3 separate regions of the Homo sapiens genome follow, and all the other regions are linked to region 2. The links are contacts of gene promoters, found by promoter capture Hi-C in human tissues and cell types (Jung and others, 2019). All regions are on one chromosome and are shown on one strand. Each heading gives the region's core, a stretch centred on a gene start or on the middle of the fragment in contact. The rest is flanking DNA. Distances are from core to core; before and after follow the strand shown. Region 1 holds the start of CAPS (calcyphosine). Region 2 holds the start of SH2D3A (SH2 domain containing 3A). Region 3 holds the start of ACSBG2 (acyl-CoA synthetase bubblegum family member 2).

The links. Contacts are between HindIII fragments. The study calls those that stand out against the background at their distance.
Region 1: a contact is called between the fragment with the promoter of CAPS here and the fragment with the promoter of SH2D3A in region 2, in 1 of the 25 tissues and cell types used here (lymphoblastoid cells).
Region 3: a contact is called between the fragment with the promoter of ACSBG2 here and the fragment with the promoter of SH2D3A in region 2, in 1 of the 25 tissues and cell types used here (lymphoblastoid cells).

Annotation. Positions count from the first base shown.
Region 1 is chr19:5,912,745-5,916,032 of GRCh38, reverse strand. It overlaps CAPS (calcyphosine), which reads right to left and starts at 1,779. Exons shown (of 5, transcript NM_004058.5): 1 at 1,724-1,779; 2 at 1,544-1,648; 3 at 1,293-1,470; 4 at 887-1,093; 5 at 1-812. The coding sequence starts at 1,626. The coding sequence ends at 711. The HindIII fragment of the contact is 10,666 bases long and covers 1-3,288 here.
Region 2 is chr19:6,765,421-6,768,729 of GRCh38, reverse strand. It overlaps SH2D3A (SH2 domain containing 3A), which reads left to right and starts at 1,295. Exons shown (of 10, transcript NM_005490.3): 1 at 1,295-1,343. RefSeq lists a silencer at 757-816 and an enhancer at 2,905-3,309. The HindIII fragment of the contact is 38,619 bases long and covers 1-3,309 here.
Region 3 is chr19:6,134,178-6,137,464 of GRCh38, reverse strand. ACSBG2 (acyl-CoA synthetase bubblegum family member 2) reads right to left here and starts at 1,798. Exons shown (of 15, transcript NM_030924.5): 1 at 1,556-1,798. The region is part of intron 3 of LOC105372255 (a long non-coding RNA gene); the gene reads left to right. RefSeq lists enhancers at 1,028-1,930, 1,931-2,834. The HindIII fragment of the contact is 13,898 bases long and covers 190-3,287 here.

The DNA of each region.
Region 1 (3,288 bases), core at 530-3,029, 850 kb after region 2:
CAGCGTGTCACCAGTGCTGGGGTCCAGCCACAGCCCTGTTCTCTCCACCACCACCCGCACTTTACCCCCACCCCTGCTGCAAGGCCCCGCCGGTCTGCCCCCGCCCAGAGCTCCCAGCCTCGGGCCGCTCACCAGAATGTAGATACTGGGCCCGCTGGACATGTTACCTGCTATTTTTATTCCCCATTTGCCATCTTCTGATTGGGGGTTGATGTTTTACAGATTTTTTTTTCAAAGGCTTTATTTCAGTTTCTGAGGTTAGGATGCCCCTGTGCCCCTCGCTCCACACCTGGGCAGGTCTAAACTTCCTTCCAGGATGGCCTCCACACACAGCCTCCCACCTGGGGTCACCTGGCTTCCTGGGGGACCCGCAAGGGAGGGGCAGGGAGCAGCAGTCCGGGTGCGGGGATCGGGGGACCTCGGCGGGGGCATCCACAGGGGCTGCAAGATCTCTGGTCAGCATGGCGTGGGTGGGGAGAGCGTTTCTCCCTGGGGTCCTGAGCCAGTGACTCCTGTTAGGACCTTTGTCCCACCTCCGCCTGGTGGACCGGCAGGGACCTGGTCTAGCCAGTCCTGCAGCCTCCATTCCCCCACCTGCCCCTCCCCGCTCTGTGGTGTGGCTGCCCAGGAGAGAAGGGGCCCAGGGAAGGGAGGTCTCCGGCAGGGGTGGGGAGTGACAGGCCAGGGCAGCAGGGCTGAGCCGGAGCTGCTCACAGCTGCCAGGCACTGGTCATCATGGCCACGAACTCCTCATCCGTGTTCATGGAGGCACTCACGCCGCTGTAGTAGTCCTGGAATTCCGCCAGTGTGACCTGGGAACAGAGGGCCGTGAGGGGGCACGGCCGAGGAACTGCCTGGGGAGGGGGCCCCCCGCGCAGCCACCCACCTGCCCGTCCTTCTCAGAGGAGTCGAAGTTGTCCAGGAAGCGGCGCAGCACCTCGTCCTCGGTCCACTCCCCACTGCGCACCTTGGGGTGGGCACGGCCACTGTACACCCCGCGGAGGTCGTCCACCGTCACGACGCCGTCCCCACTGCGGTCCAGCTTGGCAAATGCAGCTGCGATGACAGCCTCCCGGGCCTGGGACATGGGGGGCTGGGACAGGAGGTGGTGACTGGGGGTGGTGGGTAGCACACCCAAACCCCCAAGACGCTGTGCAGAGCACTGGGGCTGTATGCCCCAGCAGGCGCCTCTTAACAGCAGCTCTTAGGGAGGAGTCCCCGTCTCCGCATCTCAGCATCCTCTGTCGCCCCATGCCCAGGGCACACGCCTTGACTGTGAGGTGGGGGCTCACCCGCAGCGCCCGAAGGAACTCCTCCAGATCCAGCGTCCCGCTGCCATTGCGGTCCCACTTCCTGCACACACCCTCTGCCTCCGCCTGGTCCAGCACCAGCCCGAGTTTGGCCAGACCCTGCCGGAACTCATCAGCGTCCAGGGATCTGCTCCCGTCCCGGTCTAGTTGGCGGAAAAACCTGGAGGCAGGGGACACGGTTGGAACAGTGGTCTCAGGGGCCGGGGTCAGGAAGGTGAGAGGGGACAGCTCACCTGGCCAGGCCCTGGATGCCCGAGGCCCCGCGGGACAGGCACTGTGCCCGGAGTTTCTCCATGGTGGCATCCACGGCGTCCATGCTTGGTCTGGGCTCTGGGCAGCTGGAAGGGAGAGAGGTCAAGGTGGGGACTCCCGCAAGCCCACCCTGGCCGACTGCCCCTTGTTCAGATGCTCACCTGGCCTGCGTCTGTCCCAGAGTCCTGCCTGCGGGGCCTTGTGTTAGCTGTGTTGTGCCTGGGGAGACTGTTGCTAGTGGAAGGTGCCTCTGGAGATGGGGTGGGGCCCAGCTGCATGAATGCACTGTGCTGGGCAGTGGGGAGTGGGGGAGGGATGGGTGCGCCCAGCCTGACTGCTTACTCAACTGCCAGCCCCACAGGGCCTGGGACAGAGCCAGATCCCTGTGGCACTGCATCCCTTCCTGGCTCCAAGGAGGAGGGGCAGGCCACTGCCCTGCAGGGGCTGAAATGCCCTGGATGGAGACAAGTCCGTGGCTGGGGAGGCTTGACGCATGATTCCTGTGTGACCCTGGACAGGTCCCTTTCCCTCTCTGGCTTCACAGGGGCTTCTCAGCCCGAGCCAGGGCTGACAAAATTGCTGAGGAATCAAAGTTCAAAAGGGCCCCAGGTTCTGACCGGCCACTGCGGCTCATGCCTGAAATCCCAGCACTTTGGGAGGTCTAGGTGGGAGGATCACTTGAGCCCAGGAGTTTGGACCAGCCTGGGGAACATATAGAGAACTTGTTTCTATTGTACAGCAACAAAAATGCCCCAGGTGGGCTGGGCGCGGTGGCTCATGCCTGTAATCCCAGCACTTTGGGAGGCCGAGGTGGGCAGATCACAAGGTGAGGAGTTTGAGACCAGCCTGACCAACATGGTGAAACCCCGCCTCTACTAAAAATACAAAAATTAGCCGTGCATGATGGTGGGCGCCTGTAATCCGAGCTACTTAGGAAGCTGAGGCAGGAGAATCGCTTGAACCCAGGAGGTGGAGCTTGCAGTGAGCCAAGATTGCACCACTGCACTCCAGTCTGGGCGACAGAGCAAGACTCCATCTCAAAAAGAAAAAAAAAAAAAAAGCCCCAGGTGGCCCAGGTCCTGGGGCCCTAAGACCTCCCACCCAGGCCCACCTCCAAGGGCAGGTCCTGCAACCCACAGAGACTGAGCTGAGCCTGAGGGACACCTCTGCTCACTGCCACAAAGCTTGTCACTGGCCGTTGTTAGGAGCCAGTCCCAGGATTTCTGTCTTTACGGATCTTTTGTTGTTGGTTTTCAGGCCTGAAACGTGACTTAGTGGGCTGGCTCCTGACAAGGTGGTGAGCCAGAGGTTGTGACCCCGAGTGGAAGAGCAGCCCTGATCCTGGACATAAACCTCAAGAGACGAAGCCACCTCACTGAAGGCCTTCAACGGAGACATCGGATATACCTGCCCGCTAAGATAGGTGGGTTTTCCAGGACTTGAAACGTGGGCCCTGTTTGAGGACCCACTGTTCGCCCCGACCCAAGGATCATCAATCGGAGCCTTCTCCAAGCCTGGCTTTACCTCGCTCACAGCACAATTATATTGTCAGAAGTTGCCTTGCCTGAGCGCGGTGGCTCATGCCTGTAATCCCAACACTTTGGGAAGCCAGGGCAGGAAGATCACTTGAGCCCAGGAGTTTGAGACCCGCCTGTGCAACATAGTGAGACCCCCCCATCTCTACAAAAACTACAAAAAATTAGCCAGGCATGGTGGTGTGTTCCTG
Region 2 (3,309 bases), core at 46-2,545:
AATAAAATAAAATAAAATAAAGGCAAGTTGACAGAACAGCCCTTGTGTACAGTAAGTGCTCAATAAATGTTAGCTGCTGCTACTGCTTTTAAGACTGTGGTTACTGGGGCCAAGCACAGTGGTTCATGCTTGCTTGTAATCTCAGCGCTCTGGGAGGCCAAGGCAGGAAGTTCGCATGAGCCCAGGAGTTCCAGAGCCTGGGCAGCATAGTAAGACGCCACATCTACAAAAAATAAAATAAAATCAGCTGGGTGTGGTGGTGTGCACCTTTAGTCTCAGCTGCTTGGAAGGCTGAAGCGGGAGGATAGCTTAAGCCCAGGAGGTTGAGGCTACAGTGAGCTATGATCACCACTGCACTCCGGCCTGGGCAATATAGCAAGACCCTGTCTCTACAAGACAAGACTGATGTTAATATGAGGAACTCATCAATAAACGTGGCCAAAGAGTCCTCTCTCTTGCACTAGGTCCCTGTCACCTTTTCTCTTGTTCGTCTCCAGGCATCACGATGGAAGTCCCCCCCACCCTTCTTCCCACCTGGGAAACCACCTGAATGATTTGCCTTCCACCTCCACCAAAGTCCCGCCCCGCTCCAGCGTGCTGTCACTGAAGGAAGCTGTCGCGTTTTCCCGGACGTCTCTCCACAAAACCCGCCACCTAAATGGGGCTTCTTTCCGGAAAATCCGGGAGGGCGGTCTGGAGGAAGCGTACCCCTCCTTACGTCACAGCTGCCGCAGCTACCCCAGCCTGGCGTAAGAGCCCGAGGGAGTTGCCCTGCCCTGACCCGGAGCCTTGGCGGGGAGGGGAGAGAGGCACCCCACTCCACCCCGCCCTGGTCCCAAAGGGCCATGGGTGCTTGGGGCCGCCTGGGTGGAAGGGAGGGGCAGGGTTCTAAGGGGCGGGAACGTTGGGATGAAATTTCTTCTATTGCCCTAAGGGGCGGGGCTGAGAAGGAGGTGGCTGCGGGTGGGCGTAGTCATTCGGCGGTGGTCGTGGCTATATACAAGGGGAGGGGCCACTGGCAGGAAAGGATGCGTGGTGCTCCCCTAGTGGGCGGGGTCTATGGAGAAAGCGGTGCGATGCAGAAGGAGGCGTGGCTAGTAGCAAAAAAAATGGTTTTAAGGGGGCGGAGCAAGGGCCTGGGAAGTTAGTTTGAGGCGGGGCCCGCAGGGGGCGGGGTCTGCAGGAGGTGTGGTCAGGTAACTGGGCTGAGTTCCCACTAGGTGTGGTCTGGGAAGGCTGGGGCGGTGGCAAGGTGGAGGGCGGGGGTGACAGCAGCCCGGAGCCGCGGAGCCTCAGCTTCCGCCTGGACCCAGCCTCGTGGGAGCCCCGCGGGTCCTGCCCAGGTGAGTGGAGCCCCAGGGCAGATCCAGAACCAGGATTATTGGGATGGGGAGTCCTCTCTTTCCAGGTGGGGTCACCGGCTCGCAGGGAGGATCTGGGGTAGAAGAGGTCGCCTCGCGAATGAGAGGGTCGCTGTGCGTTACGCGTGTCGGTGTGCTCGGGCTCACCTGGGCGTGCCTCTCTAAGTGTATTTCCTGTGCAGCACAGAAAGCCATTGTTTCCATTTTTGCCTGAGTGATCCTCTTAAACGGCGAATCAGATCGGGCCCCTCCTTCACTTAAAACCCTTGGGTCATAGAGATTAAAATTCAAAGTCCACTAGTTTTTGCCTAGTCTCTCCTCCTGATCTCTCCAACCTCATTGCCCTCCTATCTACTCCTTCCTCATCGTATTCCGGCTACACCAGCCGCCTTGATGATGTAAAATGTAAAAAGCAAGTCCATCTCAGCTCCAGGCCTTTACCCTTACTGTACCCCTCACCCAGGCGACTCCTCCAAATCTTTGCCTAACTGCCTCCTTCTGTACTGAGGTCTCAGTTCCAATGTCACTTTATAGGAGAGGCTGTCCTGTCCAGCCTCCTCTATCACATCTCCCTGGCTTATCACTTTCATTGATAACTCTTAGAAATGGTCTGTCTTCTCCATTCATCTTGTGCTCGTTTGCAGTCTGTCTTGCGCAGCCGACTGCAAGCTCTGGAGGGCAGGGTGGTGCCGAGCTTTAATCTCCTTAGTCACTGTATCTCTAGGTCCTAGAACAGAGCCTGGTGCACAGCAAGTGCTCCAGCAATGGTCGTCCAACGTCAAAAGCGAGTCCTGCCTACATCTGTGTTTGTGTTGCCTGTGCTGGTGGTTCCCACCCTCCACGTCCTCCCCACACGTGGACACATGTTTATGATCCAACTGGAACATGAATAATCCCCTCTCTCCTCTCTCTATGCTTGGTCTGATTCCTGATTCTGCCCGTTTCTTCTCTTCCGTGCCCGAATAAATGATCCCAAAGGACTCAGAGGCAGGAGATGGCTTAGTTGGCCTTTGGCTGACCTATGGCCACCCTGTGTCCTCAAACTAACCAGAACCTTGCCATTGACTCAACTTCACTCTCACTAAGGGAGACACAAGACAGGAACTTGGGGTTGGGAAACTCTGCGACCGAGGCTAGCCCTGGTCCAGGTGACAAACAGGAAGTGCGCAGGCATTGCAAAGACACACCTGGCTTCAGGTATGCGGCACTGGCAGCTGGCTCCCTGCCCAGCGCTCCTCCCCTAAAGCCACCTAGGGCTGGTCTGGGAACTTCCTGCTGACTCAGGAGGCAGGAATTTCTCTGCAGACCCCACCAGAAGACTTTGCAGGGCTGCAGGGAGAGCTTGCAGGAGAGTAAGAAGCAGATTATCTTCTTCTGGACCATCCAGAGAAATCTCCCCCACCAGACACCTGAGACACACTGGCCCTGAGGCCTGTGAGATTATCGGGAAACTACCAAAATGTCTGAGATCCAAATTCAATCATCATGATAACCACATGTATGGGCTCCGAAATAGAAGGATCTGCAAAGGCAACATTGCTGTTTGCTGACATTGCTACAAAATGTGACCTTTTAAAAATCTTAACCCTGGGGTTACATTCTTTTTTTTTTTTTTTTTTTTGAGACGGAGTCTTGCTCTGTCACCCAGGCTGGAGTGCAGTGGTGTGATCTCGGTTCACTGCAGGGTCTGCCTCCTGGATTCAAGCGATTCTCTCTCCTCAGCCTCCTGAGTAGCTGGGACTACAGGCACACGCCACCATGCCTGGCTAATTTTTGTATTTTTAGTAGAGACGGGGTTTCACTGTGTTGACCAGGCTGGTCTCAAACTCCTGACCTCAGATGATCCACCCACCTCTGCCTCCCAAAGTGCTAGGATTACAAGAGTGAGCCACCGCGCCTGGCCCCCAGCGTTGCATTCTAAAGCAAAGAATAGGGGTTAGATCTGCAC
Region 3 (3,287 bases), core at 549-3,048, 630 kb after region 2:
CTCACTCTGCTGCAGCCACGTGGGCCTCCTCACTGTTCTTCCAACTCACCAGGTGCAGTCCTTCCTTGGGGCCTTCGTACGGGCTGTGCCCTCTGCCTGGAACTCTCTTCCCCTCAGATAGCTGGGACTACAGAAGCATGCCACTACGCCTGGCTAATTTATTTTTATTTTTATTTTTGTAGAGCTGGGGGCCTCGCTATATTGCCCAGGCCGGTCTTGAACTCCTGGCCTCAAGCAAGCCCCCCCCCCCCCCCCAACCCCGCCACCTCGGCCTCCCAAAGTGCTGGGATTTGCAGGTGTGAGCCACCACACCAGGCCCCTCTTTTCTTTATAAATTGCCCATCTTCAGGTATTACTTTATGGCAATGCAAAATGGGCAAATAAAATTAGTATCCGGAGTATGAAAAGAACTCTGGATTTAAAAGACAAATGTAAACAACCCAGTGTTTTATGATGAAAAATGTAAACAGGCAGTTCACAAAAAAGGAGCCTGGAAAGGGCTACAAATCCTGGACAAGATGCTCAGTAGCTTTGGTCATCAGGGAACTGCACGTTAAAAATCACACGATCGGCCGGGTGCGGAGGCTCACACCTGTGATCCCAGCACTTTGGGAGGCCGTGGCAGGTGGATCACTTGAGCTCAGGAGTTCTCTACAGAGGACTTGTAAGTTACTAGTAATATTCGATTTCACGAAGTGAAAAGGGCACACAGATATTTATCGTTATTCATTAAATCGTACAGATATGCTTTGTGTTATTTTATATGCATTATATGTTTCACAATTTTAAAAGGCCATGTAGGGTTCAGATGTGGTGACTCACACCTGTAATCCCAGCACTTTGGGAGGCTGAGTCGGGTGGATCGCTTGAGGCCAGGAGTTCGAGACCAGCCTGGCTGGCATGGTGAAACCCCATCTCTACTAAAAATACAAAAATTAGCTGGGCATGGTGGCGCGTGCCTATAATCCCAGCACTTTGAGAGGTCGAGGCGGGTGGATCACCTGAGGTCAGAAGTTCAAGACCAGCCTGGCTGGTATGGCGAAACCCCATCTCTACTAAAAATATAAAAATTAGGCCGAGTATGGCGGCTCACGCCTGTAATCCCAGCACTTTGGGAGGCCAAGGCGGGTGGATCACGAGGTCAGGAGATTGAGACTATCCTGGCTAATGTGGTGAAACCCCATCTCTACTAAAAAATACAAAAAATTAGCCGGGCATGGTGGCAGGCACCTGTAGTCCCAGCTACTCAGGAGGCTGAGGCAGGAGAATGGTGTGAACCTGGGAGGCGAAGCTTGCAGTGAGCCGAGATTGCGCCTGGGCAACAGAGCAAGACTCTGTCTCAAAAAAAAAAAAAAAATTAGCTGGACATGGTGGCAGGCGCCTGTAATCTCAGCTACTTGGGAGGTTGAGGTGGGAGTATCACTTGAGCCTGGGAGGCAGAGGTTGCAGTGAGCTGAGATCGTGCCACTGCACTATAGCCTGGGCAAAAGAGTGAGACCCTGTCTCAAAAAAAAAAGAAAAGAAAACGCATGCCCTTCTCCCATACCACTGGCACCTGTCACTCTTCAAGAGGTGTGGTTCTGGCCATCTGGCAAGGCACCTGGAGCTGGGACATCTGGTCACTCAGGTGTTTTCTTCTTCCTGCAAAGACAGTCAACAGGTAGCCCCTCCTGGAAACCTGAACATGAGCTGCCCCTTCCCAGCCCCCGTCACCCTCTCCGTCCAGCCAGGATGATGGTGGTGGTGGGAGGCAGGAGGATGGGTGGTTTCCCTCCACAACAGGCCTTCTACCCCATTCAACCTTCCAGAACGTTCCATCCCAGCCACCTCTTGTGACATCACTGGCTGCCCCTGCCTCCGCACCCCACCCCCACCCCTAGGGGAAGCTGCTTCCAGGACAGGGAGATTGCTCTTTTCATGCATCATTCATTTATTCATGCATGCATGCACTTCTGCGTTGCATTCGTGACGTTTTTATGAAGCCATGACCCTAATGGCAGGGATTGTGCTGGATGCTGGAGACATAAAGATGAACAAAGCCAGATGAGGCCTGTTCAAGAAAATAAGAGGAGGCCTAGAATCACACAAACAAATGCAAACTTACCATTGTGAAGAGAGCCCCAAGGCATGTTGAGGGCTTGATCAAAGGATCCCGCCCAGGCAGGGAGTCTGGGAGTGGTTTCTTTCTTTTCTTTCGTTTTTTGAGACGGGAGTCTTGCTCTGTCACCCAGGCTGGAGTGCAATGGTGCGATCTCAGTTCACTGCAACGTCTGCCTCCCAGGTTCAAGCGATTCTCCTGCCTCAGCCTCCCGAGTAGCTGGGATTACAGGCGCCCGCCACCACGCCCGGCTAATCTTTTGTATTTTTAGTACAGACGGGGTTTCGCCATGTTGGCCAGGCTGGTCTCAAACTCCTGACCTTGTGATCCGCCCGCCTTGGCCTCCCAAAGTGCTGAGATGACAGGCGTGAGCCACCGCGCCTGGCCTGGGAGTGGTTTCTTGAGCTGGGATCTGAAGTATGCCTGGATGTTATTCCTGCCCTCGTGACTTTCTCTTACGCTGCCTGTCTTCATGTGTTTACAGCGGCCTCCCCCTTCTCGTTCTCTGCTTTAGTCACTGCTAACAATGTCCACTACCAGGCACAGTGGCTTGTGCCTGGAATCCCAGCACTTTGGGAGGCCAAGTCCGTAGCATCACTTGAGGCCAGGAGTTCAAAACCAGCCTGGGCAATGTAGTAAGACCCCGTCTCTACAGAAAAATTTAAAAAATTAGCCGGGCGTGGTGGTGCGCAAGTGTAACCACAGCTAGTAGGGAGGCTGAGGTGGGGGGATTGTTTGAGCCCAGGAGTTCCAGGCTGCAGTGAGCTGTGATGGTACCATGGCACTCCAGCCAGGCCTACAGAGCAAGACCTTGTCTCAAAACAAAAAAGACAAAACAGTGCCAGGTGCAGCACATACTAGATGCTCAGTAAATAAAGATGTAGCAACAGAATCTTGTGCTGTGCCAGGAGAAAAGGACAAGGAGTGTTCCTTTGTCTCCAGGGCCTTTTGTGTGTGTGTGTGAGAGAGAGAGAGAGACGGAGTTTGGCTCTTGTTGCCCAGACTGGAGTGCAATAGCGTGATCTTGGCTCACTGCAACCTCTGCCTCCCGGGTTCAAGCGATTCTCCTGCCTCAGCCTCCCAAGTAGCTGAGGTTACAGGCATGCACCACCACTCCCGACTAATTTTCTGTATTTTTAGTAGAGATGGGTTTTCACCATGTTGGCCAGGCTGGTCTCCACCTCGTGGC